3 separate regions of the Homo sapiens genome follow, and regions 1 and 2 are each linked to region 3. The links are contacts of gene promoters, found by promoter capture Hi-C in blood cells and fetal thymus (Javierre and others, 2016). All regions are on one chromosome and are shown on one strand. Each heading gives the region's core, a stretch centred on a gene start or on the middle of the fragment in contact. The rest is flanking DNA. Distances are from core to core; before and after follow the strand shown.

What was found. The method cuts DNA at HindIII sites, captures the fragments that hold promoters and counts their contacts. A CHiCAGO score of 5 or more calls a contact.
Region 1: a contact is called between a fragment that was not itself captured here and the fragment with the promoter of OR6C65 in region 3, in 1 of 17 cell types (erythroblasts). The highest score is 5.5, in erythroblasts.
Region 2: a contact is called between a fragment that was not itself captured here and the fragment with the promoter of OR6C65 in region 3, in 1 of 17 cell types (M1 macrophages). The highest score is 5.2, in M1 macrophages.

The regions. Positions count from the first base shown.
Region 1 is chr12:55,611,968-55,614,667 of GRCh38, reverse strand. It overlaps the pseudogene OR6U2P. Among named protein-coding and RNA genes, the nearest start is that of OR10P1, 24 kb to the left of the region's middle. The HindIII fragment of the contact is 3,700 bases long and covers 1-2,700 here.
Region 2 is chr12:55,193,374-55,196,073 of GRCh38, reverse strand. It overlaps the pseudogene OR10U1P. Among named protein-coding and RNA genes, the nearest start is that of OR10A7, 26 kb to the left of the region's middle. The HindIII fragment of the contact is 1,346 bases long and covers 637-1,982 here.
Region 3 is chr12:55,399,272-55,401,971 of GRCh38, reverse strand. OR6C65 (olfactory receptor family 6 subfamily C member 65) reads right to left here and starts at 1,443. Exons shown (of 1, transcript NM_001005518.1): 1 at 505-1,443. The coding sequence starts at 1,443. The coding sequence ends at 505. The HindIII fragment of the contact is 3,793 bases long and covers 213-2,700 here.

The DNA of each region.
Region 1 (2,700 bases), core at 100-2,599, 210 kb before region 3:
AAGAAATTAAGAATGTGTTTCAGTGGTCCTTTCAATAAAATAATAGGGATACCAGGACCTTTAAAGATCTTTCAGGCCTTAGCTGTGGTTTTTATCTAATGAAGCAAGCATCAAGAAGATACACTGGAGATCCATAAAGTTCCCGAATGAGTTATATCCCCAGAAACTCTGTCATCTTGGATTGAAAAGAAGACAGTACAAAATAAGAAAGAGGCATTTGGGTCACTGTAATTCTACTGGGAGGAAGAAGGCTGAGAAAACTATTCAGCTACAATTGTGTGCTACTTTTCATGAAAAAGGAAAAAATGACTCAGAGGGCAGGACCAAGGGCCCAAGAGGAATAATGAATTACTCCCAAGTTTTGAATGAGTTAAGGAGTTTCCATCATTTTCAGCTGGATTTCATAATTTTTCTGGACCAGTAATTCCTTTTCTTTTCCTGTTTTTGAGTGGCAATAGTTATAGTTATTCTATGCCTACCCCATCATTGTATGTTGGGTGTGTGTGGGGATGTTAACTTGTCTTTTTTAGTTTCACAGGTCACAGATTGAGAAAAGTAGTTAGGGGCTGTATGTACCTATGGAACTACACCCAAGGAGCTTCATCTACACCTGGACCTGGTTTAGATGATAAGATTGTGGATTTTGATTGGAAACTATAACAAGATGAGACCTTTGATGACTTCGAGAAGGGTGGAATATATATTGCATGTGGGAGGGACATGAATCATTGGTGGACTGTGCCAGAGGGTAGATTGTAATAGGCTGCATGTAATGTTTCCCAAATCATCCCTGCCTTCTGATATTCATGTCTTTGTGTGCTCACCTCTTCTTGAATATGGGCTGGACTAGGTGACTTACTTCTAACAAATAGCATATGATAAAAATGATGTGATGTCACTTTTAACATTAGGTTATAAAACACTTTTGTTTTGGCCATTCTTTCGTTTGTTTGCTCTAAAGAAGGCCAGCTGCCATGTTATGAGCTTTCTTATAGAGTGCCCACATGGCAACAATCACTGAGGAACTAGAGCCTGCTAACAGCAACTGGAGTGAGCAGCTCAGAAGTTAATCCTTCCCTAGTTGAGTCTTTTTTTTTTTTTGAGATGGAGTCTCACTCTGTCACCCAGGCTGGAATGCAGTGGCATGATCTTGGCTCACTGCAACCTTCACCTTCCAGTTTCAAGCAATTCTCTTGCCTCAGCCTGCTGAGTAGATGGGACTACATGTGTATGCCACCATGACTGGCTAAGTTTTGTATTTTTAGTAGAGATGAGGTTTTCCCATGTTGGCCAGGCTGGTCTCAAACTCCTGATCTGAGGTGATCCACCCACCTCAGCCTCCCAAAGTGCTGGAATTATAGGCATGAACCACCATGCCCCACCCCCAGTAGAGTCTTTAGATGAGACAACAGCCCTATTGAGCTGCTCTGAGTTAAGCTGAACCCAAATTACTAACCCATAGAAACCAAGATAATCAATGCTTGCTGTTTTAAGCTGCTAAATTTTGGGATAATTTGCGTGCAGCAAAAGATGACTATTAAATCCAGATGTCTCACATCTGTAGGAAATGTGGTATTGCGTTTAGATCCAGAAGTTGTGGGTTTGAACCCTGGTCTCCTGTGTGATCTTTGGCAATACACTTAAACTGTTTGAGTATATCAACATCTTATGTAAAATGTAAATAATAATTTTTCCATCTGTTTCGCAGGGTTATTGTGAAGATTGAGTGAGGTTAGTGTTGAGAAAATGCTTTTGAAACTATGAAGTGTTCTACAAACATTATAGGTGTTAAAAATGAAACTGGCATGCTGACGAATGTCAGCTGTTACTGGAGTCTAGTTGAGGGCACCTGGGGACATAGGCTAGCTATTTCTCATTTCTTTGGCTGACAGAGTGATAAAAGAAGGTGCAAACCTAAGACTGAGGCTAGGTAATAAGACTCTTCATATGATATCAGGACATTTTCCTTATGGCCTGTGGGGAAACCTGCACCTTGCTGGGGGTGCAATGGGGGCCTAAGCCCCTGACTCCTGCCTCTTGGCCTGATGTCATGTGGACTTACTCTGGAGAAGGCACCCATTTTTTCCCCAGAAGATGACTTTTAGGGCCCTTATTTATTTTGGAACAAAGTCATTTTTCTGACTAGGTCTTTCATTACCTGCTTAACTTGTTGGTTCCTCAGAGTACAGATGAAGGGATTTAACAGTGGGGCAATAATTGTATTGATTAGAGACACTCCCTTGTTGACATCAACCCACTTTCCTGGAGAGGGCTTGACATACATAAAGAAGCAGCTGTCATAACACATGGTAACCATAATGACATGAGAGGAACAGGTAGAGAAAGCCTTCTTCCTCTCCTGGACAGCGGGGATTCTGACAATTGTCTGGATGATCTGGACATAGGACAGGGTGATGAGTACCAAGGTGCCAAACAGTGCTACTAAGGCCAGGGTAAAATCCACCATCTCCAGCACCTTTGGCCCACTGCAGACCACCTCCATTAGAGGCGTGTAGTCACAGAAGAAATGCTTGATGTGGGTATCACAGAATGGAAGCTGACTGGTCAGGATGACAGGCATGATGATGAAGGAGAAACCTAGTAGCCAGCAGGTGAGGATGAGCTGTGTGCAGACTCTACTACTTATGAGCATGGGGTAGTGGAGGGGCTTGCAGATGGCAATATACTGGTCATAGGCCA
Region 2 (2,700 bases), core at 60-2,559, 210 kb after region 3:
AAGAAAATGTGTCCGGAATGGAGCAATGGGGATCATTCAGAATGAAAAATATTTTCATTTCTTGAAGACAGTAGAAGAAAAATACATTTTTTAATGTTTTTGACCAATTACTTTAATTAATTCCATTGGAAATTTGGGGTTTTCTTCCCGTGCCTATTTTTTTAATGCTGCTAGCAATTGAATAATAAATAATGAATAAAGTGAATGCTATTTTGGGGGTTTATGGAGGCTACTATGTTCCATGCACTGTGCCTACCAATATTACAAAGGCCTAATTAGTCACTGTCCATTTGAGGAGCTTAAAAAGGATTACTATGGCAAACATCCATAGAGTTTAATAATAATTTCAGTTGTATGATGGGTTCCAATTAGCAACTTTTAGTTTTATGCATTGGAACAGGTGATATAACTGACAGCAATAGGTATCTCTGGAAATGTCTTTAACAACTGAAAACCAACTTGCACATTAAACACTCATTGTTTTTAATATACTCCTCTTGAGACAAATATAATTAAGCTGCACAGTGGATGTATTCCCTATGGTCTCTAGTAGAAATAAAAATACTGCCTATTCTATCACTGTGCTATAATTTAGAGCCATAGGAAGTCTAGGAGCCCAAAAAGGAAAAGAAAGCTTACCTTGTGGTTCTAGGTATGTTCTCCTATTTGTAATTTCTTGCAAATTTACACTGAGGTTGTAGAAAGGAGATTCTGTCGATTTTGGCTTTCTTGGATCTTAGCTTTGTAATTATTTGCTTATTCTGTTCAGATCAAGTAAAATATGTACATAAATACATAGATAAACAGCTGGAAATATATTCCCTTTTAAGCCCTTAAGTGTAGCTTTAAGGAAGGTTATAGAATTTGGAAGACCAGAGTATAACACCTTTACATCTGAATCTATTAATTTTTATGTGACTCCTTTAAAATTATAAGTCTTCATATATTGCTTGCATAATAGCTTCTGTATATAATTAGTGATAAGACAAAAACAAAAGATTCAGAATATGCAACTTAAAAACCATTGTTTTTTCCAAATGTTTGTGAAAATTGCATATAATCCATAACTTAAAATCAGGAAGAAATATGTATTCGATGTAATTGTGTAGTTTAGAAAGATTTAACAGAAGAAATCCAGGTGTCTAGATTCTCATCTCAGACTACTGATTCTAGGAAAGCTCCTTTGCTGTGGTTCAGTAGAGAGATGTGTTAGGTGACTGCATTCCCATTAACCTGCCTTCTTTGTTGTCTGCACAGATGTTTAGCTCTGAGCCCACCATAGATGGAAATCAGTCCCTGTGTGCCAAATTCACATTTGTGGCTTTTTCTTCTATAGAAGAATTACAGCTTGTACTCTTCATTGTGTTCTTAATCATCACTTATGCACTATAGGAGGAAATATCATCATCATCTCCCTGATCTGGATCACCCCTGCCCTGCACACTCCAATGTATTTCTTCCTGGTGAACCTCTCATTTCTGGAGATGTGCTATACCACCAGTGTGGTGCCTCATGCTGGTGCACCTGCTGGTGGAGACCAAAACCATAAGTGTGGGTGGCTGTGCAACCCAGATGTACATATTTGCCATCTTGGGACTGACAGAATGCTGCTTGCTAGCAGCTATGGCTTACGATCGCTTTGTAGCTATTTGTTACCCACTGCATTACACTCTCTTCATGGGCCCTCGTGTTTGTTTGAAATTGGCTGCAGCATCTTGGTTCACTGGAGTGGTGGTGGAGTCAGCCCAGATCACCCTGATCTTCACTTTGCCTTTCTGTGGAACAGGAAAGATTCAACACTTTTTTGTGACATAATGCCTGTACTGAAACTGGCTTGTATTGATACCTCCCAAATTGAAATTGTGATGTTTTCTCTCTCCGTGCTATTTATTGTGAGTCCTTGTTTCCTCATTCTGTGCTCCCACATGCACATCCCTGTGACCATCTTGAGAATCCCTTCAGCAGCTGGAAGACACAAAGCTTTCTCCACTTGTTCTTCTCATATCTTGGTTGTTTCTCTGTTCTATGGCACTGCCTTGTTCACTTATCTGCAACCTAAGACTGCACACACTCCAGAAACAGACAAAGCAACTGCACTCATGTACACAATGGTCACACCTGCTTTGAATCCTGTTATCTATACCTTGAGGAACAAGGAAGTAAAGGAAGCCTTTCAAAGGATAACCCAAAGGAACTCTCTTAGACAAACGGCCTAAACCAGTCATAGTAGCTGAAACCTATGCTACTGTACAGAGAGGTTACCCGATTTTATGATTCTTCTACCAACATATTCTTTTATTAAAGCATTTATAGCCTAGCTACCAAAAAACATTTGGATTTGTCACACATTTTTCAATGTCTGTAAGTAAAAGGAAACTACACAGTAGATTCATTCAATTGTTAATCATTCATTCATTCAACAGTATTTACAGGGCATCTCATGTGTCAAGCTACCATTTTCTCCTTCTCCAGTGGTAATAGCATTAAGTCCAGTATGTTTCATGCCATTTTCCTGAGGAAAATGAAATATCCTTTATGAGTATAAAACAAAAAATGAAATAAACAGGAAGTAATACTATTTTAGTATCAAATATAGTCTATTAGAATTTAAGTTCTTAATTGGAGTATGCTCCTTTAATTAGTGTGCTCTCTGTACATCTTAAGGTCATACATATTAAATAACCAACTGTTAATAAATAC
Region 3 (2,700 bases), core at 194-2,693:
TATTTATTTAATAGTCACACCTCACAATCTTGATCTGCTTGATAAATATAAAACAGATATGATAAGATGGAAAAATTACAGAAAAAAAGGAAAAGATTAAGAACAAACCTGCACGTTGTGCACATGTACCCTAGAACTTAAAGTATAATAAAAAATATATATAAAGAATACAGAAAAACGTGTGTGAATATAGAAAAAAAATAAAAGAAGCTTTAAGATGACCATGAAATCTTTGACCAAGCTATTTAATTTGAATTCTACCTGCCATATTACTTTCTATACCATATTTCTTCTATTTTTTTTAAATAGCATTTGTTCCTTACTAAAGTACTAGGTAATTTTCTATTATATTGATTGTTCCATATGTGTGTTTTATCACTAGAAGTAAGCTCTACAATGGTGTGAATCTTTGCATGTGTGTTCCTTTGTGTATACCTATTACGTAGAAAGATGCTTTGTGTTTTTATTGGCTTATTTGTGTTTCAGCCACAGATTTAGTTATCATTATTGCTTGTTCAATGATAATATTTTTTTGGTGAATTCCCTAAGGGCCTGTTTCACCTGCTGGTTTCTTAAGGTATAAATAAAGGGATTCAACATAGGAGCAACAGAGGTATTAAGCACTGCTACACCTTTGCTCAAAGCCATACCTTCTTTTGCAGATGTTTTTACACACATAAAAATGCAACTCCCATAAGAAACAGAAACCACAATCATATGGGAGGAACAAGTTGAAAAAGCCTTTTTCCTTTGCTGGGCAGAGGGAATCTTCAGAATTGTTTTAAGGATGAGTGTGTAGGAGAGAACCACCAAGGCCAAAGTTACCATGAGTGTGAATACTGCTAGCAAAAATGCCATAAGCTCTAGAAACTGTGTGTCTGTGCAAGCAATCAGCAGCATAGGGGAAGAATCACAGATGAAATGGTCAATAGTGCTGGAGTCACAAAAATCCAGTTGGAGGCCCATAATCACGGGGGGAAAAATAATGAGAAAACCAGCCAGCCAGGAGCTGATTACAAGCCAATTACAGACTTTGTTACTCATGATGGTTGTATAATGTAGAGGTTTGCAGATAGCCACATAGCGATCATAAGACATGACAGCCAGAAGAAAAAATTCTGTTGATCCCAAAAGAATTAAAAAAAATACTTGGGCCATGGAAGCATTATAGGAAATGGTTGTGTCTCCTGTAGCAATGTTGATCAGAAATCTAGGAATGAAGACTGTCGTAAATGAAATTTCTAAGAAAGAGAAATTCCTGAGGAAGAAATACATAGGAGTTTTCAAATGAATATTTGACAATGTTAACATAATGATGATCATGTTTCCACTTACACTCAATAAGTATGTGATCAACATAAAGAAGAATATCACAACTTGTAACTCTGGGTTATCTGTAAATCCCAGAAGAATGAATTCTCTAATTGATGTCATATTTGGCATGGCTTAGTTCTGAATTCTGATAGGTCTGTAGATAAAAAGAAGAGTGAATGTCAATACGTGATTTGATTTCAAATACACTAGGATTGCTCTTATTCTGCATCAAGAACTTTAAGACCCATTCAACAAGAAGTGGCAGAATATCCATTAGAATTGCAAGTTCATGACAGAATTTATTTAGTAGTGAAAAGATTAATTTGTGTTTCATTACTTTAAAAAACATTTAAGTTTTATCTTTGATAATTCTCTGCTGTATAGTTTTGATTACTTAATGTACAGAAAGGTTTTTTATAGTTAAATAATAATAAATATTTTGCTTGCTTTGTTCTGTTGGTGGAATATTGAACAAGTTATCAGAATACATAGTAATTTTGAAAACTTAAAGGCCATAAAATACAAATGCTAATATTGTCATTAGAAAACAGACTTTCGGCCGGGCACGGTGGCTCACGCCTGTAATCCCAGCACTTTAGGGGGCCGAGGTGGGCGGATCACGAGGTCAGGAGTTCGAGACCAGCCTGACCAACATAGTGAAACTCCGTCTCTACTAAAAAAGAAAAATTAGCCGGGCGTGGTGGTGTGTGCCTGTAATCCCAGCTACTCCGGAGGCTGAGGCAGGAGAATGGTGTGAACTCAGGAGGCGGAGCTTACAGTGAGCCCAGATCACACCATTGCACTCCAGCCTGGGCAATAGAGCAAGACTCCATCTCAAAAAAACGAAAAACAGAAAAACAAAAAAAAAAAAAGAAAAGAAAAGATTTTGAGTTATTTCAATTTTAAAAATGAGCCTTGATTTCTTTTCATAGCAAAAACAAACAAAAACACAGAAAATACTATATTTATGGGAAATTAATTGAACTCCATCTCCTCTTGCTGTAGGCAAAACTGATCCTCTTAGCTCCTTTCTGATTGAAGTTGACATAAACACAATGCCGACCTTTATTAATGAACAAGATCACAGTATAAAAGTTCCAATCGGACTTTTTAAATATAGTCAATCAATCCAGTGTTTGTTTTAGTTCTATGGGCCAAACTCTGCATGCATGCATCAATTATTCTGAATTAGTCCATTTTGATTGATACAGGTACCTGTAGTGGTCTATGCCAACAAAACAGGAATTTTAGTGAAGTACATAATCAACATCCCGAATATGAATTGCTCAGCATGATCTGTTGCTACCAGTACTAGAAACAGAGAAACCATCTTGACAAATTTTGAGTGACCCATGAGAGTAATCTGATTTAATGAACAGAGTCAAA